7 separate regions of the Homo sapiens genome follow, and regions 1, 2, 3, 5, 6 and 7 are each linked to region 4. Evidence: promoter capture Hi-C in 16 types of primary human blood cells and fetal thymus (Javierre and others, 2016). All regions are on one chromosome and are shown on one strand. The core of a region is centred on a gene start or on the middle of the fragment in contact, and the rest is flanking DNA. Distances in the headings are between cores, read along the strand shown. Region 1 has its middle 72 kb from the start of IRF4. Region 2 overlaps EXOC2 (exocyst complex component 2). Region 3 has its middle 42 kb from the start of IRF4. Region 4 holds the start of DUSP22 (dual specificity phosphatase 22). Region 5 overlaps EXOC2 (exocyst complex component 2). Region 6 overlaps EXOC2 (exocyst complex component 2). Region 7 has its middle 91 kb from the start of IRF4.

The links. Contacts are between HindIII fragments. The CHiCAGO score rates a contact against its expected background, and 5 or more counts as called.
Region 1: a contact is called between a fragment that was not itself captured here and the fragment with the promoter of DUSP22 in region 4, in 1 of 17 cell types (total CD8 T cells). The highest score is 5.7, in total CD8 T cells.
Region 2: a contact is called between a fragment that was not itself captured here and the fragment with the promoter of DUSP22 in region 4, in 5 of 17 cell types (activated CD4 T cells, total CD8 T cells, non-activated CD4 T cells and 2 more). The highest score is 8.8, in activated CD4 T cells.
Region 3: a contact is called between a fragment that was not itself captured here and the fragment with the promoter of DUSP22 in region 4, in 3 of 17 cell types (total B cells, naive B cells and activated CD4 T cells). The highest score is 6.5, in total B cells.
Region 5: a contact is called between a fragment that was not itself captured here and the fragment with the promoter of DUSP22 in region 4, in 3 of 17 cell types (activated CD4 T cells, naive CD8 T cells and non-activated CD4 T cells). The highest score is 6.8, in activated CD4 T cells.
Region 6: a contact is called between a fragment that was not itself captured here and the fragment with the promoter of DUSP22 in region 4, in 3 of 17 cell types (total CD8 T cells, naive CD8 T cells and activated CD4 T cells). The highest score is 8.0, in total CD8 T cells.
Region 7: a fragment that was not itself captured here is called in contact with the fragment with the promoter of DUSP22 in region 4 in 1 of 17 cell types (total B cells); the score reaches 5.4 in total B cells.

Annotation. Positions count from the first base shown.
Region 1 is chr6:462,075-466,087 of GRCh38, forward strand. No RefSeq gene overlaps it. Among named protein-coding and RNA genes, the nearest start is that of IRF4, 72 kb to the left of the region's middle. The HindIII fragment of the contact is 3,475 bases long and covers 422-3,896 here.
Region 2 is chr6:523,732-527,562 of GRCh38, forward strand. The region is part of intron 23 of EXOC2 (exocyst complex component 2); the gene reads right to left. Among named protein-coding and RNA genes, the nearest start is that of HUS1B, 130 kb to the right of the region's middle. The HindIII fragment of the contact is 1,096 bases long and covers 1,420-2,515 here.
Region 3 is chr6:431,948-436,131 of GRCh38, forward strand. No RefSeq gene overlaps it. Among named protein-coding and RNA genes, the nearest start is that of IRF4, 42 kb to the left of the region's middle. RefSeq lists an enhancer at 2,796-3,025 and a silencer at 2,799-2,963. The HindIII fragment of the contact is 3,213 bases long and covers 1-2,983 here.
Region 4 is chr6:291,237-295,044 of GRCh38, forward strand. DUSP22 (dual specificity phosphatase 22) reads left to right here and starts at 1,251. Exons shown (of 7, transcript NM_001286555.3): 1 at 1,251-1,324. The coding sequence starts at 1,304. RefSeq lists enhancers at 214-503, 430-930, 931-1,431, 1,724-1,983 and silencers at 614-1,633, 2,378-2,534, 2,414-2,473, 2,484-2,543. The HindIII fragment of the contact is 6,707 bases long and covers 1-3,808 here.
Region 5 is chr6:544,778-548,518 of GRCh38, forward strand. The region is part of intron 22 of EXOC2 (exocyst complex component 2); the gene reads right to left. Among named protein-coding and RNA genes, the nearest start is that of HUS1B, 110 kb to the right of the region's middle. The HindIII fragment of the contact is 5,921 bases long and covers 1-3,741 here.
Region 6 is chr6:503,780-507,947 of GRCh38, forward strand. All of the region lies in intron 23 of EXOC2 (exocyst complex component 2), which reads right to left. Among named protein-coding and RNA genes, the nearest start is that of IRF4, 110 kb to the left of the region's middle. The HindIII fragment of the contact is 4,850 bases long and covers 1-3,761 here.
Region 7 is chr6:480,834-485,023 of GRCh38, forward strand. No RefSeq gene overlaps it. Among named protein-coding and RNA genes, the nearest start is that of IRF4, 91 kb to the left of the region's middle. The HindIII fragment of the contact is 1,573 bases long and covers 1,046-2,618 here.

The DNA of each region.
Region 1 (4,013 bases), core at 909-3,408, 170 kb after region 4:
GTGGATAGTGCTGTAGTAAATATGAGAGTGCAGATATCACTTTGAGATAGTAATGTATTTCCTTTGGATAGATAACCAGTAGTGGGATTGTCAGATCACATGGTAGTTCTATTTTTAATTTTTTTAGGAACTTCTATACTGTTCTCCATAATGGCTAAAGCAATTTTCATTCCCACAAACAGTGTACAAGGGTTCCTGAAGAGGAACTTCAAGGCTAACTGGTCCAACCATTTACCCAAATTCTCTAATTGTCTGGCCTGTGTATTCGTATCTCCCAGAGATAATGGGACTCTCCAGCATTCAGGGCAGCCTATTTTATCTCTGGGCAGCTCTGATTGCCAGAAGATCTCTCTCGTGTCAAGTTTCAATTGGTCCTTTCATAATTTTCGCTCGTTAAACCTATCTCTTTCGGCTAAATGTAAGCTTATTACATGTTCTAATGGCAGCTCTTCTAATATTGGAAGACAAATATTACTCACCCATATATTTAAAAAGTTATTGAGTGTCAATGTGCCAGATACTAGAATAGAAACCAGGGAATCAGACATGGAAAAGGCATAGTCTTGCTTTCCTGGATCTCAAAGTCTAGTTGTAAAAGCACGTAACTGCAATGCAATGTGGTAAGAGTAATGGCATACATTTTCAAAGAGCATTTTGGGAACACGAAGAAAAGCATCTATTTGTGGGGACAAAAAAAAAAAGTTAGGAATGGCTGTCTAAGAGAGCTGAAACTTATGGAGAGGTCAAATTGGTCACATAGAGAGGAAGGACATTCCAGGCAATGAATGTTATTAGCAAAGGGTTGGAGGTGTGCATCATGGAAATCACAAAAAATCCAGGTGTGGATTCTGGTACGTAAAGAAAGGAGTGAAAGCTAAAGCAGGCAAGGTGGTCGGGAAGCACATCCTGCAGGGCTGTCTGCTGTATCCCGTATGCAGTAAGAGCATTGGAAAGTCTTGGTGGAGGAGTAGCATAGGGTATGGTATCCAGTATCCAGATATAGAAATACTTACCACACTGTGCTGCGAGGTTGCATTTGGGTCGGAAAAGGGTGGTGGGAGGCAGGGAGGCCAGCTGGTACGTTTTCCTGGTGGCAGATGGCCAGGGCCTGCATTAGCCAGGGCAGTGATGATGAAGTAGTTGCCCATTGGACAGATTCCTCCAGGGTGAAGTTGATGATGGGTGGTGGTTGGCCAGGTGGGAGGCGTGAGGGAGAAGAACACACGGGAACGGCTGGGTTTGTGGATTATGTGCTGGGTGGACAGCAGTGTATCCCCTGACACAGACAGCTCAGGGGAGCCCTGAGTGAGGGGCAGGGAGGTGAAATCCGCTTTGAGCCCAACAACTTTGAGATCCATAAATTACACAGGTGGTGCTTAGCAGGCAGTTGGGCAGATGAATTTCGAGTCTGAGAGAAGAAGGGGTCAAGGGTGTCTTAGTGGCTAATAATTTGAGTGGGTTGGACCCCACCCCACCATACAGGCACAGCGAGTGGGGAGCGTAAGCAGAGTGATTTCTGGGGGAAAGCCTGGTGATTGTTGGAATTTAGGGGCTGTGTGGAAGAAGAGGAGCCTAAGAAGGAGACGGAAAGATGAGGAGGAAGGGCTCAGAGGGAAACAGGAAGGTGTGGTTTCACTGAAGCCACGGGGCCAGAGGAATCTCAGGAAGCAGGAAAGCACGGACTTCACTTCACATTCAAGATGTCAATAGCCTTGCTTGTCAGACTTCTTACTAAAATGCTACCCCTTAAGTAAAGTCTCACCGCACCAGCAGCAAAGGCCTGCAGAGGGAACATAATGCCGGACGCAGGAGGACGCAGTGATGGCCCGGAGGGAGGAGTATGCCGGAGAGATACCAGCTCAGGCTTCCACTTTGTTTTCCAGGCAGAGAAGCGCTGCCACCCTCCCTGGCACCTGTCTCCAGTCCTAGCGCCCAGGCAGGCAGACAGATTTCCCTCCTTCATGGGGGAGTCTGACACCTGCAACCACGTCGCAGCTCTTCCTCCGTCCTTTTCTGCACTTAGGAAAAGGGTATACTCCTAGGAAACAACCATGCAGAAAGGGGATGTGTGGGGGCTGACAGCTGGCAGTGGGGCTTTAACTTCTAGCAATTTTTTCTAAGAAAACAATGAGAGTGAATAGATATGAAGTACTAAGGAGTTCATTCATCACAAGATTGTTCTCCAACAAGGAAAATGGGCAACAATCAACATTCCCAAAGGTAGGCAAGTCCACGCCCTGCAACCCAATGCAGCCACTAAAATGAATGTCTTCATATTTTTAATAAGGCAAGATGATCATATTTTAAAGGTGGTTGCTACATGTTATGTATTATTAATTCGTTAACATCCATTTAATATGTAAGCACAGAAGAGTCCGGAAGGCTAACAGTAAAATGTTAATAGTGGTTGTCTCTAGGTAGTAGGACCATAAATTTTTTTTTTTTTGGCTTACCTTTATTTCAGCATTTTCTTCAACATTTACCAAAACGACTTGGGTTATGAAAAATTATTTGAAGGACTGATCAAAAGGTCCAAAAGCCTCATGAGATAAGATCTGAAACGTGGGTATGACCTGGCAATTTGGAAGCCACTGGTCATCTTAGTGAGGAGACTTTCCTTAGTGAGCCAGAAGGTGGAATACGGGGGATTCCGAAGCCAGTGGTAGGTGGTGACTGAGTGTGGGAGGTGTCTAATCTTTTTTATTTTTATTTTATTTTTTATTTTGTTATTTTTGAGATGGAGTTTTGCTCTTGTTGCCCAGTCTAGAGTGCAGTGGTGCGACCTCAGCTCACTGCAACCTCTGCCTCCCGGGTTCAAGTGATTCTCCTGCCTCAGCCTCCGTAGTAGCTGGGATTACAGGTGTGCACCACCATGCCCAGCTAATTTTTTATATTTTTAGTAGAGACAGGGTTTCACCATGTTGGCCAAGGCTGGTCATGAACTCCTGACCTCAGGAAATCCACCTGCCTTAGCCTCCCAAAGTGCTGGGATTACAGGCATGAGCCACCGCACCTCGCCTCTAATCCTTTTTAAAACAAACTGAGCAGAGAGTGGGCTAAACTCATCAGCGGCTGGGGTGGTCAAGCTGCCCCAATGCTTGTGCACCCCTAAAGCTGGGGTCGGAGGTTGGGAGGTGTCTGAGAATAAAGAAGATGAAGATTCAGCTGTGGCCTGAAGACAGAGGTGAAGGCTGCCATGGACACTGTGGGGGGGGGGGGGGTGGCGGGGCAGGAAGCAGGCAGGGACAGGGTTGGCCTGGACTTAAACATCCAGCTGGAAGCTGATGGGATCCAGGAATCCCAGGCAACATCTCACCAGGAATCCATCCGATGGTACCCATAAACTCGGAGAATTCAGCAATGGTTTAAAAAGGTGGCTGTTTGCAGAGGTGAGAGAAGGTCCTGTGGAAACACAGGACACAGCATGGGGGGAGCTGCAGGCTGCAGAGGTCCTCCCACCCGAGGGCCTGGAGGAGGAAAATCAAGGGCAGACTCCCCTCCAGTGCAGAGGGTGACTGAAAGGACAGGTGGCCTTCCAACCAGTGGCACATCTGCTCCCGCCACCTGCCCCATCCTCTTTCTCCTTTCTCCTGCCAGGTTCCTGTCGTTCACAGGCATCCAGGAGCCAGAATGCTGGGTGCTGGTTTGCCAAGGCAGAGGTCAGAGCAGGGACGCCTCGGGGCACAGATGGAACATCCAGCTCCCGGAGCCCGGTTTAGGATTGGGGACTGAAAACCGGGGCTGGTGATCTGGTATTGATGAGACCCAGGAATTTTGATCTTATATTGCTTGGTGAGTCTTCAAAGACATTCGAAAGGCAAGGACTAGGGTAGAAAACATGACAGTAACCTGTGGACATCTACGTCTCGTATCCTCTGAAGGAAGGAAATGAGGCAAGCTTGGCAGTTTATGGTAGAAGAGAGAGGAGGGTTTCTGTGTTATGAACTGCACGAGTTGGCTGAGCTCAGTCTATCACGTGTGTGGTGGGCACATGGCCAGACTCCATGTGCCCT
Region 2 (3,831 bases), core at 718-3,217, 230 kb after region 4:
GGAGTGCAGTGGTGCAATCATAGCTCACTATAACCCTGAAGCCCTGGCCTCAAATGACCTTATTGGTGATATCACTAACTCATATGATTAAAATGCAGCTTTCTAAATTCCTCTTAAAAATGTACAATGGGGAATGGAAAACTACCTCTATTTTCCGCTGAATTGATAACGTGAATACAATGTTATTATTTGAAGGTGATGTTTGGGGTAGTATGAAGGTGTGGGTGGGGTGCAGAGCTGAACTAAGACATTACAATATATCTAGATGCTTCCACCAAAACTGAAAAAGCCGCAAAGGGAGGAGAACTTGAAGTTTGATTATGTTAAACAGAGGGGGTAGCTCTGCTTATGGATTTATTTTTTTATTGATAGAAAAGTAAGAGCAATATATGCTGAGTGGAAAGAAAAATGTCTTATAATCCTTATTCGGTCATTCATTAGGACATTTACGTATGGGGAAGAACCACCAGACTCGGCAATGACTGTAATTACGTAGAGGTGTCATCTTGTGAAGAGGTCAGCATGGCTCCTGCCTCTGGTCGTCCCATGACTACCAAACACCACGGCACATCTGTATCTATGTAAGAAACCTGCACGCTCTGCACATGTGTCCCAGAACTTAAAGGAAAATGAAATAAAATAAAAATAAATAAAACAAAAATTTCAAACATTAAAAAAAAGAAGCCCTACTTAGTCATAATGAATTAGTGTTCCACTGCATGGACAATAGTGCTTTGATCTGCTAAAAATAATTGTTACAATTTTTTGTTCCAACGTTCATGAGGGACGCTAGTCTGTAATTTTCTCTCCTTGTAATGTTCTTGTCACATTTTTGATTTGGGGTTATGCAGGTTTCATAAAATAAGATTGAATATGCTTCCTATTATATTTTCTGATAAAGTTTGTATAAAATTGGTATTATTTATTCCTTAAATGTTACATAGAACTTATCAGTAAAACCATTTGGACTTGGAATTTTCCACAAAGAAAGGTCTTTGATTGTGAATTCAACTTAATAAATATAGAAATTTTTCTATATTTAATCATCTTTTAAAAAATCAAAAGTCAAAACCCAAAAAGTTTGTCTTTTCTATTTTCCCACATATCAACCATTTCTGATTCTTTTTATTCCTTCCTTTAGATTCAAGTTTCCATCGAGTGTTTCTTTGGCTGCATCCCTCTGTGCCTTCTGCAGGAGTGCTGGGCACCTGCTGCAGTCGTGGATGGCCCTCAGATCTGGCTGGTGCAAGCTCCCCTCCTGCAAGGGTTCAAGCGCCCCCTCCAGTCTGTCGGCTTTTGACGGCTCTCCAGTGCTTCTCACAGCTGGGTTTCTATATTCTGTGCAGAGTTCAATTTTTAACTGTGGAACGGTTAGTCTGATAAGTTCTTCCTCTATTACTGAAACCAAAATTCCTCTGAAGCTTGCACTTTTTATTCTGTGGTAGTTCTAATTAAGAAAGCATGCTACATTTTATCATTAATTTTAGGATAGTTCCATCACAGGCTTACATAAAGGCATTGTAAAAACTTTCTAAGTGTAAGATAGTGCTACTACTAAGCTAACTTTACTAGGTTTTTCTTCACAAATTTACCCAAAGTGGAATTTATTCCATTTTCAAATGTCTAATAAAATGTTGAACATTGTTCAATGAGTGTTCTTGCAATGACTAGAGGCTTTCCTCTAGACTGACATGAAGACATGATGGCAATAAGTCAGCAACTAGGACTCCTGAAAATATCAGGAAAAACTGTCAAATGACTTGCAGAAACCTAAATTCACCATGTATGCCATTTCTCTATCAAATCAAGTGTGTGTCCAAGAAGAAAACAAGTTAGTACTGCATGTGCCTGTTCTTTGTGGGTATGCTGTCTCCATGAAGTTTTTCATTTCTTTAAAATATAGAAATTTCTTTTTTTAAAATAAAAATACATCTATTCTGCCCCAATATTTTTAAAAACAAAATTTTAAAGTAGAAAATTAAAGTTTTCTAGCATGCTCCTTCTTATCCCCTTTCAAGATATGTGTATACATGTCAAATTGTACATATGAAATAGATACATTGTCTTTTTCAATAAAAATGAGGAAAGAATGAATGCATGTCTCCTTAATCAACATTTTCTACCAATATATGTACAGTCCCCCACATATAGGTATGCATTTACTTATCCATCTATCCATCTCATCCATTATAAAGAAAGTATAATATTTGTTTAGATATATAACAAATTATCTAACCAATTCACTACTGATGGGCATTTAGTTTTTCAGATTCTACATATATTAAAAAATGTTTCAATAAACATCACTGTACATAATTCTTTACTTACTTCTGTAAAACTTTCCTTAAGACAAATTCTTAGACACAAAATTTCTAAGTAAATTCTATACATATAAATGTGTGCATACACACACACGCACACACACGTATGTGTATAGATGGGCCAATTTACACTCCTAGAAAGATGACGGAATAGTTTTTTTCTCTGTACCTTTGCCAAAAAGCAGGTATTATCAAGCTTTACAGTATCTGTCAATCCAGAGGGTTTTAATAAAATGATACCCTAATGGTATTTTAAATTACATTCTTTGAGAATTGATGAATTTTATCCTATTCTTATATTTATTGGCCATATTAGTTATTTTGTGAATTTCATGAACTTGTGTCTATTCTACCAGCACATCTGCCTTTTTCTTTGTGGATTTTTTTTTTTTTTTTTTTTTTTTTGAGACAGAGTTTCGCTCTTGTTGCCCAGGCTGGAGTGCAATGGCGTAATCTCGGCTCACGGCAACCTCTGCCTCCTGGGTTCAAGCGATTCTCCTGCCTCAACCTTCCGAGTAGCTGGGATGACAGGAATGCACCACCGTGCCCGGTTAATTTTATATTTTTAGTAGAGATGGGGTTTCTCCATTTTGGTCAGGCTGGTCTTGAACTCCCGACCTCAGGTGATCCGCCCGCCTCAGCCTCCCAAAATGCCGGGATTACAGGAGTGAGCCACCGCGCCCGGCTCTTCGTGGATTTCTAATGGAGGCTGTTTATTGTCTAGCAACACAGCACAATGCCTAAAATTAAGGGCTGCCTGGATTTGAACTCGGAACCCCTACCTCACCATTTCCTAGCTACATGAACTTGAGCAAGTCACTTAACTTCTTTGTGCTCAGTGGCTTCATCTATAAAATGAGAATAAAAATACTGCTTACTCCTTGAGGTGCTGTTATATAGATTAAATCAGGTGATTTATGCAAAGCCCTCTGCCTTGCACATGGTATATATGCAATAAATGCTGACTACGTTACTAAACATGGGTACCTAGTAATGTGTGTATATAAATGCATGTATAAGGAATATATGTATAAATTCACATATACATGTAACATACAACTTATTTTATAAGGACCTGAAAACATTTTAATGGTCCATTTTCTCAGAGAGCTACATTAAACTTTGAGGTCTGTCTGCAGTTTTCCATTTTTTGAAAATCAAACAAAAATTACAATTTCTCCTTATCTCCATTCTTGTAGCATTTTTCTTATTCTCTAGAAATTCTACGCTGGACCTGAGCTTTGAATGATTTAAGTTACAGGATGCAAGAGATAACCTAATTGTGCAATGTCTCTTGTAAAATTCAGTGAAAACATCTGCAAGATACATTCCAAAAGGCAGAGATCTTAAAATAAAATTCAACAAACATAGACTTGAGAAGAGCTGTGCTTCTGCCTCTGTCTCCATAATTAGACTTACATTTTCTTTCTCTTCAATTTGTTGGAATATGCTGCTTGGCACACTGCCTGGACAACACACTTACAAGTTTCGCTCACTGATGGACTGTGCA
Region 3 (4,184 bases), core at 127-2,626, 140 kb after region 4:
AGGATGGCTGACACCTGCTTGGTATCCACTGGTTTCAATGCCATGGCATTGGCCTTCTTACCCCTTTCACTAGACAAATAAGCTAAACTAGCCTCAGACCCACGCAGAGCTGCCACCTCTGTTCATTTCCCTGTGAGTCATCCTTAATGAGCTACAAAAACGCATGACCCAGGCAGCCATGCAGAAGCCAACACTAGAAATGCATGTCCTTCCCGCAGGGTGGTGCGGTGGGGGAAAGGAGAGTTCCGAATAAGCGCCTGCCTTTAACTTCCTGAAGTCAGGGTCAAATCCAGCAGCCACCTCAAACCACACCTTCACAGGAACAGTCATAGCTTTGCAAAGAACTGAGAAGAGACAGTTGTATGTGACCACATCCAGCAGAGGTTACACTCACATCCCAACCAACCCTGTAAAAAGACCACAGGAGAAAAGTCAGAGCGCCACACAACAGAACCAATGCAGCCTTGGCCAACTCATGGAGCATATCAGGAGATGTGGGCTTGGAGAGCCACATCTTTTTTCAATGTATATATAATTTCAACTTTTGCTTTAGAGCCAGGGGGTGCATGTGCAGGTTTGTTACATGGGTATATTGCCTGATGCTGAGGTTTGGGATACGTTGGATCCCATCACCCAGGTACTGAACATTTCACCCAATAAGTAGTTTTCAACCCTTACCCCACTCTCTCCCCGACCTAGTAGCCCCCAGTGTCTACTACTGCCAAAACAGTCAGATGTTGAAGATGGGTAGGAATCTCCATTTCCATTGTGCTTTTCCAGAAATATTCTATGTTCATGCTGCCTCTCAAGCTATATTGTTTGTGGTGACCGACATAAGTAACAAATAATCAAGAGCATCCATGGGAATGCTGCACACCAACAGCCAGACAAAGACTCCCTCCTCCAGACATCAGTGGTGAGTGGGCGGAGGAGAACCTGTTACATCTGCATGTTTGAATATTTCGTGAGCAAATAAACCTCCACCTAGGAAGATATGTGGATGGCAGATAGGCGCATGGAAGGCTGTTAAATGTCATTCATCATTTCAGAAATTCAAATTCAGTTACAAGGGGCTCTGCAGTCCTATTAGAATGGCTAAAACGGGAATGAAAACATCTGGCAATACCCAGTGTTGAAGAGGACACGGAACAACCAAAACTCTCATACGCGTTGCTGGCGAAAGTGAAAAATGGTAAACCAGTTTGGGAAACAGTTTGGTGGTTTCTTATTCAGTTAAACATATGCTTACCATCTGACCAAAAGATTCTGCTACTAGGCATCCCTTAACCAAGAAAGATGAAATCTTATCTTCACATAAGCATGAATTAATTTTCAATGCATTTAAGTGGAAGAAGCCAGACCCAACAAACTACCTACTGTAGGTTTCACTTATACGACATTCTGGAAAAGGCAAAAAATAGTAAGAACAGAGGAGAGATCAGGGAATACCAGGGGCTGAGGGTGGGAGGAGTCTGCCCCAGGGCAGCATGAGGAGGGACCCAACTGTTCAGCGCCATGCTTATGGTAGTGCTTATGGTAGTGCTTACCCAATTTGATGCACTGCACACCAGAAAGAGTGAATTTGGCCAGGTGCGGTAGCTCACGCCTGTAATCCCAGCACTTTGGGAGGCCAAGGTGGGCAGATCACCTGAGGTCGGGAGTTTGAGACCAGCCTAGCCAACCTGGTGAGACCCTGTCTCTACTAAAAAAAAAAAAAAAATACAAAACTTAGCCAGGCATGGTGGTACATGCCTATAGTCCCAGCTACTCAGAAGGCTGAGGCATGAGAATCGCTTGAACCCAAGAGGTGGAGGCTGCAGTGAGCTGAGATCACACCCCTGCACTCCAGCCTGGGCAGCAGAGCAAGACCGTTTGAAAAAATAAATAAATAAATAAAAAATAAATTTTACTGCACCTTTCTTTTTAAAAACAAAAAAAATAAAAACCCTACGTCAAAAGTAGGCATTTTAGTAGCTTCGGATCTGAGAAAAGTTGTTTTCCCACTGAGGAATGCCATAGTATTCTGTTTTTCAAGTACATAACGTTCCTAGAAGAGCCAAAATTAAACTTAAAAAAGAAAAACAAAAGAAAAAAAGAAGCTGATGTAATTGACAACTTTTATAGTCTCCTCGTTTCATTCAGGTCAGTAAAGGATCAGCAAAGAGAAGCAAACATTCAGCATGCCATGGCTGGGACCCTAAGCACCACACAGGCCAGGCTAGAAAGTGCCTCCTAGACCCAGCATGCTTTTGCTCACAGATGCGTAAGCTAAGGGCGTGTGAGCCGCAAAGTCGGGCCTGGGCTTCAGCCCTGCTACTGCGACTCTGCCGGGACAAAGGGAGGCACTGATCCCCACAGGCCATCCCAGACACTGATACATTTTTGACTTGCCAGCATCTTCGCTACCTTCTCTTTCATTTTCCTATAATCCCGTTTCCTTTCACAGCATGTTCCCTAGGTGAGGAACAGCAAGTACCTGTAGGTCTGGAACGAGGGCCCAGGGCCACGAAAACCAGCCATGGGATGGAACAGGAGGGAGAGAGGAGGGGATGGACATGGCTTCTGTGTCTGGGACCACACGCTTCATGTTTTTTCTTCCCTTGGCATTTCTGTCTTGGCACAAGGGAAGTTTCAAAACAGCAGGAGCGAAGTGTTTTCCAGCTATGGCCAGGCACCCCCAGCACTGAACACAAGAATGCTAAACAAAGTCCTATGGTCATTTTCCTTAGGCCCTCCCGCCCCCAGGCTTTCTCAGAGATTGTGGAACAATGGAGCCCATGATTTTAGGATGCAGCTCAGTCCCTGGAGGCACACAGGCATCCTCCCTCCACCTGTGTGTCCAGAATTGGCGGGTTCCTGGTTATCACTGACTTCTAGAACGAAACCACAAACCCTCGCGAGGAGTGTCACAGTTCTTAAAAGTGATGTTCCTGTTTCCAGTTTCTTTCTTCTGGTGAGTTCAGTTTCGCCGGCTCAAGAATGAAGCTTCAGACCTTCACAGTGAGCGTTACAGCTCTTAAGGCAGTGCCTCTGGTGGGTTTGTGATCTTACTGACTTCAGGAATGAAGCTGCAGACCTTTGTGGTGAGTGTTACAGCTCATAAAAGCAGTAGGGACCCAAACACTCAGCAGCAGCAAAACTTATTGCAAAGAAAGAAAGCACAAACTTCCTACTATGTGGAACCAACCCCGAGTGAGTTACCACTTTTGGTTCCTGCAGCCTGCTTTTATTCCCTTACCTGGCTCTCTCTCCCTGCTCCTCCCCCGCCATATCCTGCTGATTGGTCCATTTTACAGAGAGCTGATTGGCCCATTTTGACAGGGTGCTGATTGATGCGTTTACAATCCCTGAGCTAGAAACAAAAGTTCTCCAGGTCCCCACTAGATTAGCTAGATACAGCATGCCGATTGGTGTATTTATAAACCCTGAGCTAGACACAGAGTGCTGATTGGTGCATTTACAAACCTTGAGCTAGATACAGAGTGCCGATTGGTATATTCACAATCCGTTAGCTAGACATAAAGGTTCTCTAAGTCCCCACTAGACTCAGGAGCCCAGCTGGTTTCACCCACTGGATCCTTCAGAGAGGCCGTAGGTGGAGCTGCCTGCCAGTTCCGTGCTGTGCGCCCGCGCTCCTTAGCCCTTGGGCGGTCGATGGGACTGGCGCCCTGGAGCAGGGAGCGGGGCTCCTCCGGGAGGCTCGGGCTGTGCAGGAGCCCACCGCTGGGATTGGGGAGAGGCTCAGGCATGACTGGTTGCAGGTCCCGAGCCCTACCCTGCGGAGAGGCTGCTAAGGTCCGGCGAGAAATCGAGTACAGCAGCTGCTGGCCCAGGTGCTAAGCCCGTCACTGCCCGGGACTTGCGGGCCAACTGGCCACTCCGAGTGCGGGGCCCCCCGAGCCCACGCCCACCCGGAACTCGCGCTGGCCCGCAAGCGCCGCGCACAGTCCGGGTTCCCGCCTGCGCCTCTCCTTCCACACCTCCCCGCGCAAGCTGAGGGAGCCGGCTCTGGCCTTGGCCAGCCCAGAAAGGGGCTCCCACAGTGCAGCGGCGAGCCGAAGGGCTCCTCAAGCACAGCCAGAGTGGCCACCAAGGCTGAGGAGGCGCCGAGAGCGAGCGAGGGCTGTGAAGGCTGCCAGCACGGTGTCACTTCTCACCTGGGCCTGGAGCGGCATCTTACTCAT
Region 4 (3,808 bases), core at 1-2,500:
GGCAGGTATGCAGAGAGCTGGGGATCCAGGTGTCTGGATAGAGAGCACAGCCCAGCAAGCCTGACAGGCTCAAGGAACAGACAGGAGACCAGCATGTGTGTAACTCGCTTAGCAAGAAGATAAAATGAAGTCAGCAGGGGTGAGCCAGGGCACGTCAGATTGACGCATGTACTCATTCAGCAAATATTTATTAAGCACCTACTATGTTCAGGACATTGTTGAGGATACATAAATTAAGAAGAAAAACCACTGGCTCAAGGATTCTGTCGCTGGAGAGAAACTTCAGAGTTTAATAACGTTGATAGAACACCCAAAACAATTCTGCTACAGTTTAGAAATTGATCCATTCCAGACAGAACCACAATGCAGACATTAAGGGACACACATCATCTAAGGCCGTGAGGTCTGAGGTCAGAGATCCAGCCATCTGCTCCCCCAGGGTAGGGAGGTCGGGCCTCCCCGGGGTGAGTCACGTAGCCCACCTCTCCCCACCAGGCGAGGCTTCTCGGTCTTGGTGCATGGGGCAGGGCCGCAGGAAATCCCCCAGCCTAAATCTGCCGCACTCAGAAAACCCAGGCAGGGGAGCCCCCAGAGACCAGGCCTCTGATTAGCACCTGATTCACGGAGGCAGCCAAGGCTGGGTAGCGACTGCTGGTAACTGGCCCCCGGAGTCGCCCCAGGGGAAAAGGCCAAAGGGGGATCTGGAGACCCCCGGCCGGGGAGCGGGCTCCGAGACGAGCGCAGCCGCCCGGTCAGGGCAGCGCCTGCGCGTCCGCCAGGCCCCGCCGCGCAGCCTCGGGTGTCCCGGCGGGGCGGCTCGGGCCGCGCACGCGCTCTGGCCTCCGGGGCCGGCCGCCTGGGAGCCCGAGCCTAGTGCCTCCCACGCCCGGCGGCCGCGAGCCGGGGTCCGCGAGGGCGGAGTGGGGCGCGGCAGCCAGGAACCCGACTACGAATCCCAGGGTGCGGGCGGGCGGAGCGAGGAGGGACGCTGGGCCTGCCCGGTGCGCACGGGGGCGGGGACCGGCAAGGCGGGACCATTTCCCGGCATAGGCTCCGGTGCCCCTGCCCGGCTCCCGCCGGGAAGTTCTAGGCCGCCGCACAGAAAGCCCTGCCCTCCACGCCGGGTCTCTGGAGCGCCCTGGGTTGCCCGGCCGGTCCCTGCCGCTGACTTGTTGACACTGCGAGCACTCAGTCCCTCCCGCGCGCCTCCTCCCCGCCCGCCCCGCCGCTCCTCCTCCCTGTAACATGCCATAGTGCGCCTGCGACCACACGGCCGGGGCGCTAGCGTTCGCCTTCAGCCACCATGGGGAATGGGATGAACAAGGTAACGTCTTCCCTCGTTCGCGCTGGGTTTGCCTCCGCTCCGACGCCCTGCCGTCTCGCCGGCGTCGGCTGCCCGACGACTCGAGCCCGGGGTGCCCTTTCCCGCGGTGGGGACGGGCGCGGAGGGAGGGGCGGCGCGCCTGGGCGGCGACCGCGGAGTCGGGGTTCGGAGGTGTTCCCGCCCCCACCCCACCCGGCTTCCGGGTAGGCAGCCCCCAGCCGCCTGCCTTGCCAGCCGGTGCGTTTTCGTGGCTGAAACAAGCCGCGCCCTTTGAAAGCGTTGACACTTGTTCTGCCGAGAGGTCAGCTGAGCTCCGAATGGATGTGGCTTCTTTTTTGCCCTCCTCTTCGCTCCCAAACTACGCTCTTGAAGCCACCACCGCCCCCCCCACATCATTAGTAAACGGGTGTCCTCTGTAATTTCCTCTTTCTCCTCAGATTCTGTGTGTGTGCCTGTGAGCACAGAGAAGTTTTTCTTGTGGACAGAGAAGTTAACAGAGTCCTAAGTCCTGAGCTGTTTCTAGATAGTGGGGAGGAGAGAAAAGATTCAGAGTTGATTAGGTTATGTGACTTCTGCAACAAGGGCAACCTGTTGCTGGCTGCTTGCGCTGATGAGGCCTTCTGGAAAATCTGTGTTGCTCCATTTGTCCCGTCCGTTTCTGGGCCCCACCCTGTGTTCTTTTGTTGCCCGCACCTCACTTCCCGGGCGGTGGGCTAGCCTTTCCCGTCCAGGGAAGTTGCCAGATTCCAGCTCTGGCAGCTGAGAGTTGCCGGGGTGTATTCATGTGAACCACAGGGTTAAGGATTTTGTTACTTGGTACTTGGCTGGTTTCGAGGAAGGATTGACAAGACTTTACAAAGCCCGCAACAAAGACAAGTACCTTTTTACGGGTCTTTGAATGGTCCTGGATTAGATGAGTCGTCTTTCTGCTTCACTTTTTCATTGCGCTCCACCCACCCACATCTCTACATGCCGTCAGCTTCCACACTGGGTGGGGATGGCAATGTGGCTGTGTTTTTTTTCATGTCCCTCAGCACTGGGTCAGCAGTGGTTTGGGTGTTGGGGCTGGAGTGTTGCAAATGCGGATTCACGGTAGGGCAGGGAAAACCTAGCTAACTTTTCACGTGCGCATGTCGTGTTTATTGTGTCCTGGTTACCCAGTTTGTGAAAGAACTATTGTGTGTTTGGGACCTGCATATCAATACTGGGGTATTTTGGTAAAGAGAATTGTATTCACTTTTTTTTTTTTTTTTTTTTTGGCGAGTGATCAAGTTTGGAAACAGACTGTCTCTCTCTTGGATAAATACTTGTATTATATTCCGATGAGCACTGGAATCCATCAGCACCACGAGCCTTCTGCTTTTTAAATTAAAACAGAACAATAAAGATGGTCATCATAAGTCTGTGGGCTCCGTTTGCCTTCCCATTGGTGGTGGTATCTCAGCTTTCCTTTGGCTGTTTCTAGTTTTCCCACTTGAGCTGTTCACTCTCCACCGTTTTCAGCATTTAATTTATAGTATTTGTGTAATACAATTCAAAAAATATATTTAGGAATACAGATGGTTGCCTAAGGGATCAACGTTATTTTCATGCTTTTCAACAAAAGCAGTAATATTCATATACTTTTTACCTTTCAAAATGGGTAATAAATTTCTTGACTTTTATTATCTTGTGAATAGAGACTCACAGTGTATCAATGAAGAAATACATGTATAGAGAGATTTAGAGACTTCCCTGCTTCAACACTTATTGATTATGTACATACTATGAGCCAGGTGTTGTGCTAGTGGGTGGGGAGGGGGCAAAGGGAGTACAGTGGTAAATGACCCAAAGATTCTTCACAGAACCTTCAGTACAGGTCAGCATTGTCCAGCACTAATATGATGCGAGCTATATATGTAACTTAAAATGTTCCGGTAGCCACATTAAAAAATAAACCGGTGAAATTAATTTTAATAATATATTTTATTTAACAATATATTAAAACTATTGTTTCAACATGTAACCAATATATAAAGTTATTCATGGAAGATTCCATGTTTTTTACTATGTCTTTGTGAAAGGAAAAATCTCGGGACCCCCAGATCACTTAACCTTCAAAGTCTAGTGTGTATTTTATGCCTAAATCACATCTCATTTTGGACTAGCCACATTTGGAGTACTCGATAGTCACTGTGGCTAATGGCTGCTGTGTTGCACAACACAGGGTGTGTATGTGTGTGGGGGTGAGAGAGAGAACAAACACAAGGTAGGGAGGAGTAGAGGCTCCAGAGGATAAAATAGGCAATTTCAGAAAAGTGGGGAAAGCAGAAGATGGGATGAAAGTGACCTAGAAGGGGCATTCAGCCCAGGCAAGGAATCCTGCTGCAGTAAACATGTTTAACGTGAGATCAGGAGGAACTACCCCAAATCACAAGGTTCATTAGTGGCAAAGTAGATCGCAGGAGGCCAGTAACTTAAGAACCTTAACTAGAACTTTTCCAT
Region 5 (3,741 bases), core at 35-2,534, 250 kb after region 4:
CTGGACATATAAGAAAAAGGAGCTGCCCCTCCACACCTTTCACGCCGGAGTTTCTCAAAGAGATTTACAGGCTTAAAATAAAACTTCAGGCCGGGCGCGGTGGCTCACGCCTGTAATCCCAGCACTTTGGGAGGCCGAGGCGGGTGGATCATGAGGTCAGGAGATCGAGACCATCCTGGCTAACAAGGTGAAACCCCGTCTCTACTAAAAATACAAAAAATTAGCCGGGCGCAGTGGCGGGTGCCTGTAGTCCCAGCTACTCGGGAGGCTGAGGCAGGAGAATGGCGTGAACCCGGGAAGCGGAGCTTGCAGTGAGCCGAGATTGCGCCACTGCAGTCCGCAGTCCGGCCTGGGCGACAGAGCGAGACTCCGTCTCAAAAAAAAAAAAAAAAAAAAAAAAACTTCAATTAAAAATTTAATGCCAGCCATGTTTAATGTCTACAGGCTTCGTCAGGTGAAAATCTGGAAGTATACAAATTCTGAATTAGATGCTTATTTTTAAAGACTGGGACAGATTAAAAAAGTATTTTATATATGTAAAAGCACTCCCTGGAATTATGTAATTATACCTACCACAATAAAATTATACGCTGAAGTTTATTAACCATACAACTCTGGTTTTCCTTTCTCAAAGGTATGAAAGAATTTGGTTGGTGGCAAATTTGGTTTGCACACTTAAATTGCAACTTATTTGCAACATGTATCTTAACTCTCTAAGAGCCTTCAAAATTAGTTCTTCTAGAATATAAACAGTCAATAACAGAAGAAAAAGCGCTAACCTCCTAAATAGAAAAAGGCATGCAAATTAAAATACAATGAAAGCCTATTTTAACCTATCGAATTAAACATCGTAATTAAAAAGATGACAGAAATGTGATGAGATCAGCTTCCAAAAAGCTATCTGGCAATATTTACCAAGTACCTCTGGGGCTGTGAATCTACTTCAGGATTCTATCGTGAGGAAGTAATTAGACATGTGATCAAAGATTATCTTCACTTCTCAGTAACAACAACAAAAATTAAAAATAACCTTAAGGTTACTAGTATGGGAGAGGTTAAAAATACTACGTATACCCACATTAACAAATGTTATAAAGCCATAAGACACATTTTACAAAAATATTAAATAAAAATGGAAAAGTACTCATGATAGAATATATTCAGTAGAAAAATACAATGTCAAATGAATTCAGAAAAATGTTTCTTTTTTTCTCAAATTCCTTTTCACCATGTTTCATATTTTTATAACATATAGATAGGATATATAAAGTCATGGTTACTATAAATATTAAAATCGTAGTGTCTACCTTTGGTTGGTGCATTATAGATTATTTTAATTTTTATTTTTTTTTAGACTTCCCAATATTTTTTCTTTTTAAGAATAACGGTTGGATCTTACTTTTATAAGTTGAAAAAAAAATGCATGACTGGAAAAAGACATCTCCAGGACTTGAGCAAAAGCTAAATGGTACAGGCAATACTAATGAAAATGCATGCACATGGCAGGACGCTCCCTGTTGGCACATACTTCTGGATTCAGACAGCACCGAGTCCACCAAAGGTTTATAACGGGGCTTATTTTTAAGGAGGAACAATGTAGAAGAAGATGATTTGGATACCCTGATCTCATGAATTATCATTCAATGTGGTTTCATAAAGGCCAAAACAATGTACACTAATCAACCAGCTTCAGGTCCTATTTTCATTTCTTTGGTGTGCAGGTGACCCTTGAACACCACGGGTCTGAACTATGTGGGTCCACTTATACACGCATTTTCTTCTGCCTCCGCCACCCCTGACACAGCAAGACCAACCCCTCCTCTTGCTCTTCCTCAGCCTAGTCCACATGAAGATGAGGAGGATGAAGACCTTCATAATAATTATTCACTTCCACTTTATGAATAGTGTTAATATATTTTGTCTTCCTAATAATTGTCTTAACATTCTCTTTTCTCCAGCTTACTATATTACAGGAATACAGTATGCAATAGATAAACAAAATACATGCTGATAGGCTGTTTTATTCATAAGGCTTCCAGCCAACAGGAGGCTACTAGTAGTTAGGTTTTAGGGTGGTCAAAAGTTACACTTAGATTTTCGACTGCACAGGGGGTTGGCACCCCAACCTCTGAGTTGTTTAAGGGTCAACTGTATTATCATGAGACCAGTTTTATTCTTTAAGATGCATGGTGCTGGACCAGAAAGCATTCCGGATTTAGAATGAGAAAATGTAATTTTGAGTCCTGCCTTGCTGTGCTCTTACAGGTCAAGTCCTTGACCTCTCTGGGTATCTTTCCCTATGAAGATTATGGAGCTGATGATACCATTCCTGATTTCATGCACCAAATAAAAGTGTATGTATAAAATCATTCTAGCTTCAAATGTCACTGATCATTACATTTTAATAATCCCCTAAAAACATTTATTTGTCTCCTGTTCCTATATTAAGACTAATTTATCTCCATGTTTCAAGGTGAGGAACAGGTGAAGGGAATGAAAAACTGGCCGTTTAATGCCTTTCCTGGCGTAAGTACCAGTAAGAAAGCAGGAGGAAATATCCCCGGAGGAAACACTTGGCCTGCCCTGGCTCACACCAGAGGAGTCTGAGAGAAGGTCTCACACCCAGTGACATGAGGTCCCCCTATGAGAGACCCTCATCTTCAAGTGCGGAAACAGAGAGGGAATGAATAAGCCATCCACTGTGACCTGTGCCCTGTGACTCTTCTGGGATCGATGCCCCTAGAATTATTTGTCTTTTGGAGGGAAAACTATGAAAAACAGTGGCAGAGTCAGCAGACCTTTCCCTTTGATGCCAGAAATAGACTTTACTTGGTTGGAATCATGAAATTAACAGATTCACAAATGAATAAAATCAGTGCAAATGTTATCATCTAAATCTAGTTTACTATCTATTCATTCTAAACACAACTGAATTTCAAAATATTCAAGACGGTCGATGAAAAAAAAATCCAAATTCTGAGTGGGAAAGAGCCTACCATTTATACTGCTAAATCTCCAGATCCTTTGTATTATCTTGGTCTCAAAATGATCTGGACAAAGACAAGGAAGGATATGAAAAAATCTTTTTAAGAATTAATTTAATTCTACTTCTTAGTGATATAAAGTGAAGCAACAGTTCCTACTTAGTACTGCAAAAAACCTAGAGAAAACCAAACTTGCTTCTTTTACATGCAATTCCTAATCATTTCACATATTTTAAAATGATAAATAACATTTCTCCAATAAATATATTCATGTCATTGTTGTTATATAAAAACAAAGCAACCACCTTCTACAAATAGCCACTTTTTTACTGCAAGATAGCACCTTGCAATTCTTAACACAAAAATTTCTGGAAATAAACTAGACATTTGGCCCCAAAGGCTTAAGTCACGACATTTCTCATCAGGATGATTAATCTTTACAAAAAGGCAGGAAAACAAGACAGGGCCGCCCACTTTGACATTTTCACTCTTTGAAAAAAAAATCCCAATGTAGTTCACGAACTGGAACCACCATTTATAAAAAGTAGGTAACCCTGAGTGCGTGTTGATTATAAGATTAACCAGATCATTATCGTTCTCATTCTTTGCATTGAGAAAACTGTACTGACATTAAAAAGTGGTACTAGCATAGTTTTACTGAGAAATCTGATAAACCTTTGCCCAGGAACCAATCAACCTTAATAACAAGGTTACTTCATTTTTTCCTTTTCTGCTTAGTTGAAAAAAATATAAACAA
Region 6 (4,168 bases), core at 87-2,586, 210 kb after region 4:
AATTTCGCTTCCTTTCTCTCTTCACTCCGGCCACAGCTGGGTACTGGCCTAGGGAGAGACCAGCCGAGTAGCACGCCCGCACCCTCGCCTTCCTCCTCAGCCTGTCCCGTGGGCTCTTGGGTCCAAGTAAGACTTTTACTCCCATAAAGCACTCACTTCCAATTGCTTGTTTTCTGTTTCAAAATGTTATCCAAAATCTGTCTGTGGGAGGATGTCAGCTCTTTCAAACACCTGTGTCCAAAGAAGCCCGTGCTGGGACAGGTGCTGGGGTGGCCCGGCTCGCTGGCTCCATGCAGCTCTGACGGCCAACACCGTTGGCAAAAGCAGTAGCCACGTGCTTTCCCGACTGGGCAGAGGAAGGTGCTGGCAGCCAGGGTAAAGGCATGCACATGCGAACACTGAGAGGAGGCCCAGACCAGGCAGGGGCTGGGACGGTGACGTACGGTGATGCAGGGCTCGCCTGCGGCCTCGCAGTCTCTTCCTTAAATGGGAGGTCAGACGGAGAAGGTGAGGCAGAGGCCGTCAGAGAGGGGCTCCGTGTGCATCCGTTATGGAAGCGGCTGAGGCCTCGCGGTGATGGCAGAACGATGTGTGGGATGAGTTTCAAAGGACCTCAGTTGTGGCTCCTGGCGGCAGGACCAGAATCTGATTTTTGGTGACAGAACCTTTTTCAAAGGGCCAGTGACGGTGACAGAGGGGCCATGCTGCAATTATTTTTGGTGGCATATGTCCTCCTCCCATTGAATTTCATTCCAATGTCACTATCAGTAACGTTAGTGCTTGATAATTCCTTTTAAGTTTATTGAGGTGACAGAAAGAACACTTGAGATGGAATTTCCTGGCTAACCCTACACCAATCGTATGACCTTCCACAACTCAGCTTATCTTTCAGACAACTGCCTACTCTGCGAAACAGACAGATCACGAGACCCATTTTGCTAACGAAGCTGTTATGAAAATGCCACGTGTGTGCAATTCCCCCATTCTTCCAACACGTGCTGTGTATCTATCATGTGCTGGGCATCAACAGGTGGTGATATAAGAAAGTGGGCAAAACAGACAGGACCCCCCACCCTAAGAGAGCTTACAGGTCAGTGGGGAGGAGCATCTTGCCAATTCTAAAGTAGTACACATATTTCAGGTGTTAATTTAAAATTAAAGACATAACAGTTGACTAAAAAGCATAATGACTAGAAACAGCACACTGATTTCTCTTTCTGAAATGCAAGGTATTAAGTTTGGACAATGGTCCTGCCATGACTGTCTAGCTGCTGCAGATCCTGGCTGTACATTAATTCTTTTGAGTGGTACAAGGAATGGCTAACAGTTGAGTTTGCATATAGGAACACAACAACGGCAGAAAAAAAAAACACGAATACAACATGAAATATGGCTGTGATGTGCTAGAACTGGAAACGTTTGTCCTTGACAGTACTCCTCATTTTGCTGGTTTCATACATAGTCCTTGGAAGTTAGAATTTCCGTTCAACTCTCACCATACTTTGCACTGGTGTTGAGAATGGCTCAATGTCAAATGCCGGTGATGGCTGGGGAAGACTTTGCTTCTGTGGCGACATCTGAGCCGTGGCCTGAGCGAAGAGGATCGGGGGACACAGACAGAATTAGACTGGGCCTCAGACACTCATTACTGAGTAGTCACCTGGGGGCAAGTTTCTGGACTGCTCTGACTTGTAGCTTTCTCCTTTGTAAAACAGAGACAACATTTAAGTGGAATAACGTTTTTAAGAGGCTAGGGAGGCATCCGCCAGACAGCAGGCAGCCAACAAGCGGGAGGTGTTAGGACGGCCCCGCCCCACCCCACTCTGCATTCCCAGGTGCTGCCTGGATCCACCGTTGTCCTCCTGGGCACTGTGTCCCCGGTCCCACTGGGGCAGCTCTGCAGTCCTTTGTGTGATCACTCAGTGAACAACTGTCTCTCCTATTGGACCGTACACTCCACAGCACAGGGATCATCTGCCATTCTCCTTCTCATCATAGCCTCAGCTCCCATCACAGAGGTTGGCACACAGATGGCACAAGATGTTCAAAAATATCCGTGAATGACAAACAAAGGAAGGCAAAGACCATGTCTGTCTTGCTCACTACTAAGTTCTGAAGACTTATGCAGTTGATAAGTGAATGAATGAGGGAATAAACACATCAGAGAAAAACCTAAATATATGTAGAATTCTATAATGCTCAAGTCAGAATATATCTGCGTCATCTACTAAAAGTAAGTGCCTCGGCATACATGGAAAGAAGGTATTCCTTGGGAAAGCATACAATCTCTCGCTTCTCACAAAGACAGTCCTTTTGAGCATCAGGATCCATTTGAAAAATATAGTTTGAATAAAGTAAGTACAGTAGTATAGAATATTGCTGAGGCTTAATCTATTTGCTTTCCAAAATATGCTTTATTTTTCCAGCAATATACTGAAATAATGTCATTAGGTATTTGCTGAATGCTCCGCACGTGCTGGATATTAGGAAGATGTCCAGGTATATCAGGATGGAGTGAACACGTAAGTGTGCAGGGAAACCTAAGTTTCAGTTTGTGCTCCAACAACAGTGGGCCATACAATGCCAAATGTATGGTGCACACAGTATTAGGGAGGGATCATCAGTGTGGACAGTGTGCCAAGAAAAATACAAGGCAAACGGATTTGCTCCTTGGAGTTAAAGGCTACATTATTATGCTGCAGTAATAAGTACTGTTTTTAAAAAGGTTCCCCTTCAATAAACCCCCACAACTTTCCATGTTGTTCAAGCGAGGGAATGAGAAACAGTTTCTAAGCATTTACAACATGTATCTCCTCCACTGTCTGAATATGAAATTAGAATGTGTCATGATATTTGACAAAAAGTGTCCCCACCCACACAGTATCAACCTAGACTACTACCACTTAGCAATTAATCTAGTAGCCCCGTGTGGAAATTCCCCATGGAGAAAACAAGGCTCATCTCTACTGAGCAAGAACTTGTAGGCTGTTTCCTGTAAGCCAGCCGGTGTAACCCAGCATATTCTCCAGCAACGAAGATCTTGTTTTCATGCATCAAAATAGTAGAGCAGCCTTCTTTCTTGGTATATTTGTCAGTTTCCTCTTTTAATCATATAGGAAGGTCACTTGATTTTGGAACAGGCAAACTGGCACACTATTAAAAATACTTCCTGAGTGTCCATTATTATTACATGCAGGACACTTTTCCAGGGGCTGGGGATATAGCAGGGACTACACACACACACACAGCAGTGACCACACACACACACACACAGAGCAGTGATCCCACACACACACACACAGCAGTGACTACATACACACACACACACAGCAGTGACTACACACATACACACACACATACACACACACACACAAGAAGTGACCCCCCCACCCACACACACAGCAGTGACCCCCCCCACACACACACACAGCAGTGACCACACACACACACACACACAGCAGTGACCCCCCCACACACACACAGCAGTGACTACACACACACACACAGCAGTGACTACACACACACACACACACACACACAAAGAAGTGACCCCCCCCACACACACCACAGCAGTGACCCCACACACACACACACACACACAGAGTGCTCCTGCACTCCCAGGGATTGCACTCTAGTAGGGACACACCCAGGTTTAATATGACAAATGACCATCTTGCACATGGGAGAGAAGAATCTTACACTGTCTTTAAACAGTGCAAGAAAGCAAATGCATGAAATACAATTGTTCAGGCAAACAGCAAAGCTTACATGAGAAAGAGAGGGCTTTTGCTTGATGAGAATCATTCATGAAAAAATGATCCCCTTTGCATGTGGGTGCTCGTGTTCCTTTAGTGCTGATCTCATGGGAATAATGCCCAGCAGTACCTGATACCACATAATGTTTAGCTATGTATTGGAATGACCTGGATTTAAATCTTAGCTGGAAAATCAGTTAATCTGAGCTTCTGATTTTCTTTATGGGAAAATGCTTTGTAAAATAAAAAGTGTTCTACAGGCAGACAGGATTCTTCTTCTTCTTAATAATTTGGAGAAACCTCATTAGAGAAGGTCGACATTAAAGAATAAAATATTGAACACTTTGGATTCACCAAGTCTTCGTCCTTAATTTTTTATTCAGAAAACTGAGTAATTAAATGCTCATTGTAAA
Region 7 (4,190 bases), core at 582-3,081, 190 kb after region 4:
TAGAAGTGAAGAACTCTGGATTGACAGCTTTTTTCTTCTATCACTTTAAAGATGCCTATTTCACTCTCTCTGGCCTCCATAATTTCTGATGTTAAGCCAGAAGTTGAGTCCAATGTTCTTCTCCTGTATGTAGCAGGTAGTTGTTCAACTGCTGCTGACTAGATCTGTTTTTTAGCTTTGGCTTTAACAGTTTATGGCAGTGTGGCATTTTTTGTCTTTATCTTTTTTGCTGTTTGTTGAGCATTATGAATCTGTAAATTTGTATCTGCCATAAATTTGGGAAATTGCCAGCCATTATTTCTTCAAATATTTTTTCCTGCCTGATTCTCTCTTTGCTTGCCTTCTAGGACCACAATTATCCATGTGTTAAGACCATTTGATTATATTGAACAGGTCTCTAGAAAACTTGCCCAAACATTTCCCTCTCTATTCTTCATATTGGATAATATCCACTGATCTATCTTCAAGTTCCTTTATTCTTTCCTCAGTTATCATCACTGTGCTATTTAAGTCCAGTCAGTATTTTTGCTTTATTTCAGAAACTGTATTTTTCGGTTCTAAATTTTTCATTTTAAAAATTGTTTCTATGTCTCTGCTGATATCTCCTATTAAATTGTTGCTAACATATTTTATTTTACTTCATTGCGGATAAAGTGCATTAAAACCTTTGTCTGCTGCCTAATTGCCCTGGCCAGAACTTCCAACACTATGTTGAATAGGAGTGGTGAGAGAGGCCATCCCTGTCTTGTGCCAGTTTTCAAAGGGAATGCTTCCAGTTTTTGCCCATTCAGTATGATATTGGCTGTGGGTTTGTGATAGATAGCTCTTATTATTTTGAGATACGTCCCATCAATACCTAATTTATTGAGAGTTTTTAGCATGAAGGGCTGTTGAATTTTTGTCAAAGGCCTTTTCTGCATCTATTGAGATAATCATGTGGTTTTTGTCTTTGGTTCTATTTATATGCTGTATTACATTTATTGATTTGTGTATATTGAACCAGCTTTGCATCCCAGGGATGAAGCCCACTTGATCATGGTGGATAAGCTTTTTGATGTGCTGCTGGATTCAGTTTGCCAGTATTTTATTGAGGATTTTTGCATCAATGTTCATCAAGGATATTGGTCTAAAATTCTCTTTTTTGGTTGTCTCTGCCAGGCTTTGGTATCAGGATGATGCTGGCCTCATAAAATGAGTTAGGGAGGATTCCCTCTTTTTCTATTGATTGGAATAATTTCAGAAGAAATGGTACCAGCTCCTCCTTGTACCTCTGGTAGAATTCGGCTGTGAATCCATCTGGTCCTGGACTTTTTTTGGTTGGTAAGCTATTAATTATTGCCTCAATTTCAGAGCCTGTTATTGGTCTATTCAGAGAGTCAACTTCTTCCTGGTTTAGTCTTGGGAGGGTGTATGTGTCGAGGAATTTATCCATTTCTTCTAGATTTTCTAGTTTATTTGCGTAGAGGTGTTTGTAGTGTTCTCTGATGGTAGTTTGTATTTCTGTGGGATAGGTGGTGATATCCGCTTTATCATTTTTTATTGCGTCTATTTGATTCTTCTGTCTTACTAGTCTTGCTAGCGGTCTATCGATTTTGTTGATCTTTTCAAAAAACCAGCTCCTGGATTCATTGATTTTTTTGAAGGGTTTTTTGTGTCTATTTCCTTCAGTTCTGCTCTTGATTTTAGTTATTTCTTGCCTTCTGCTAGCTTTTGAATGTGTTTGCTCTTGCTTCTCAGGTTCTTTTAATTGTGACGTTAGGGTGCCAATTTTGGATCTTTCCTGCTTTCTCTTGTGGGCATTTAGTGCTATAAATTTCCCTCTACACACTGCTTTGAATGTGTCCCAGAGATTCTGGTATGTTGTGTCTTTGTTCTTGTTGGTTTGAAAGAACATCTTTATTTCTGCCTTCATTTCGTTATGTACCCAGTAGTCATTCAGGAGCAGGTTGTTCAGTTTCCATGTAGTTGAGCGGTTTTGAGTGAGATTCTTAATCCTGAGTTGTAGTTTGATTGCACTGTGGTCTGAGAGATAGTTTGTTATAATTTCTGTTCTTTTACATTTGCTGAGGAGAGCTTTACTTCCAAGTATGTGGTCAGTTTTGGAATAGGTGTGGTGTGGTGCTGAAAAGAATGTATATTCTGTTGATTTGGGGTGGAGAGTTCTGTAGATGTCTATTAGGTCCACTTGGTGCAGAGCTGAGTTCAATTCCTGGGTATCCTTGTTAACTTTGTCTCGTTGATCTGTCTATTTTCAAGTTCCTTTACTCTTTCCTCAGTTATCCTCACTGCTATTTAAGCCCAGTCAGTATTTTTGCTTTATTTCAGAAATTATATTTTTTGGTTCTAAATTTTTCATTTTAAAAATTGTTTCTATGTCTGCTGATATCTCCTATTAAATTGTTGCTAACGTATTTTATTTTACTTCATTGTGGATAAAGTGGTCTTGGTTCTCAGGGATTTGTGTCTGGCTAGAGGGGTTGTAGGAAGGTGGTACGAGAATCTTTTTTTAACATGTGACGAGATGATAATGATAACAACCATGAAAATATCAACAGTGACCACAAGAAGAAAACCAACGGCTTCCAGTCATGGTAAAACACTGTTGAAGGCACAAGACAAGCTTCACTGCCCACTTTGTCTAGGATTTTCTGTGCCTAGACAGGAGAAAGACACTCTGATATCCTACTGCCTTTCATTAGCCAAACTGCAAACAAGTTACCCAAAGACCCAGGTCTTGTCCGTAAGATGTTTATTGCTATATATTTCTAACCTGGCCAGGTACAGAAAGGCTTTCCAGTAATACACGTAATAAACCTCAATGTAATAAATCCTCCTCTGGGGGAGCAGAAATGAGATGAGATCAGCACACAAAAAGCATAATGGCCCTAGTATAGAGTAATATGCAACTGTGTTTAAAGCAAAGCTAAAATAATTATGGCTGCTGCTCTAATTGAGGAGTGATATATTAAATATATCTTTCAGAGCAGTTCACAGATCTATATGAAAATCTTTGCAACAGAACCAACAGATAAATGTTCAGTGACAAAAATGTATGCAAGTTTAGTCTATGCATAATTATTTTATGAATATTACATAAAATATATTTGACTTTTAGAAACCTAATCTTGATTTAAAAACTAGTTAAAATTTGTAACTTTTCTGAAAACATTACACAACACGCTTATGAAACTAACAGAATATCCCATAGCACGTGATCAAAACAGAAATACACACCACCACCTTGTACCAAATCCAGAATAAAAATATAATCTCTTCTATTTCTTCCCTTTAAAAAAATCTACATGCAAAGATGACAAGAGACAGGAGAATGAGTCAGTGTGCTCAGCCTAAGGCAATGATGCTTGTTTTGCAATGCCCAAATCATTTCTAGAATATGCTCTTTCATGGTACACTGATAAAGAAAGTCTTAGTAAAAAACCAAGTGATTTCTAATAGCTCTTTCCCATTCAAGTGAGGCCAGCTCAGCTAACTCACATGAAGCCATGCTGTGACCCACAAAGAACATGGGTGTGCTGGAAATGAAATGCCACTGGAGCACTGAAGTACCTTGAACCTCCCTAATTTGTTTTCTCAGCTGCCTCGTTAACTTGCTCCAGGTCCTGGTTTCTCTCTCGGCTTTCATCTAACTTATTTCATATTCATCTCCTCTTACCCACTAAACCAGGGTTCTGTAACTCAAGTAGCTCTTGAAATCCCCCTTTCTTCCAAGAAGTCCCCCCTGACTTGTTGGAATAGTAGTCCTTGAACTCCCTCACTTGGGTATGGGGTTTTTAGGCCTTTACCTTCCACTCTGAGCCATAAAAGCACTACCGGTTTCCGTGTTGCTACTGTTTATTAGCCTCTGGAATTGATGAACTTTCTCTGAGCTGTGACCCAGGTGGATGGATGTCAGAAAGCATATTCCGCTGGAAGGAAGAGCTGAGCAGTAGTGAAGTCAAGGACATACAGAGCCAGAGTGTGAACATGAGTCCTGCTACTTACTGCCTTGCAGTCTTACGGAAGTCACCAACCTCTCTCTAAGCCCTGATTCCTTCCTCTGCTAAATGGACGTGGCGGTAAGCTAGCCCACATGTATCATAAGGCTGTTGTGAGGATTCAACGAGGCACTTCATGGTGTGCCTCGCACATGGTAAGTCCCCAGCAAACAGAATTAGCAGGACCTGACAGAT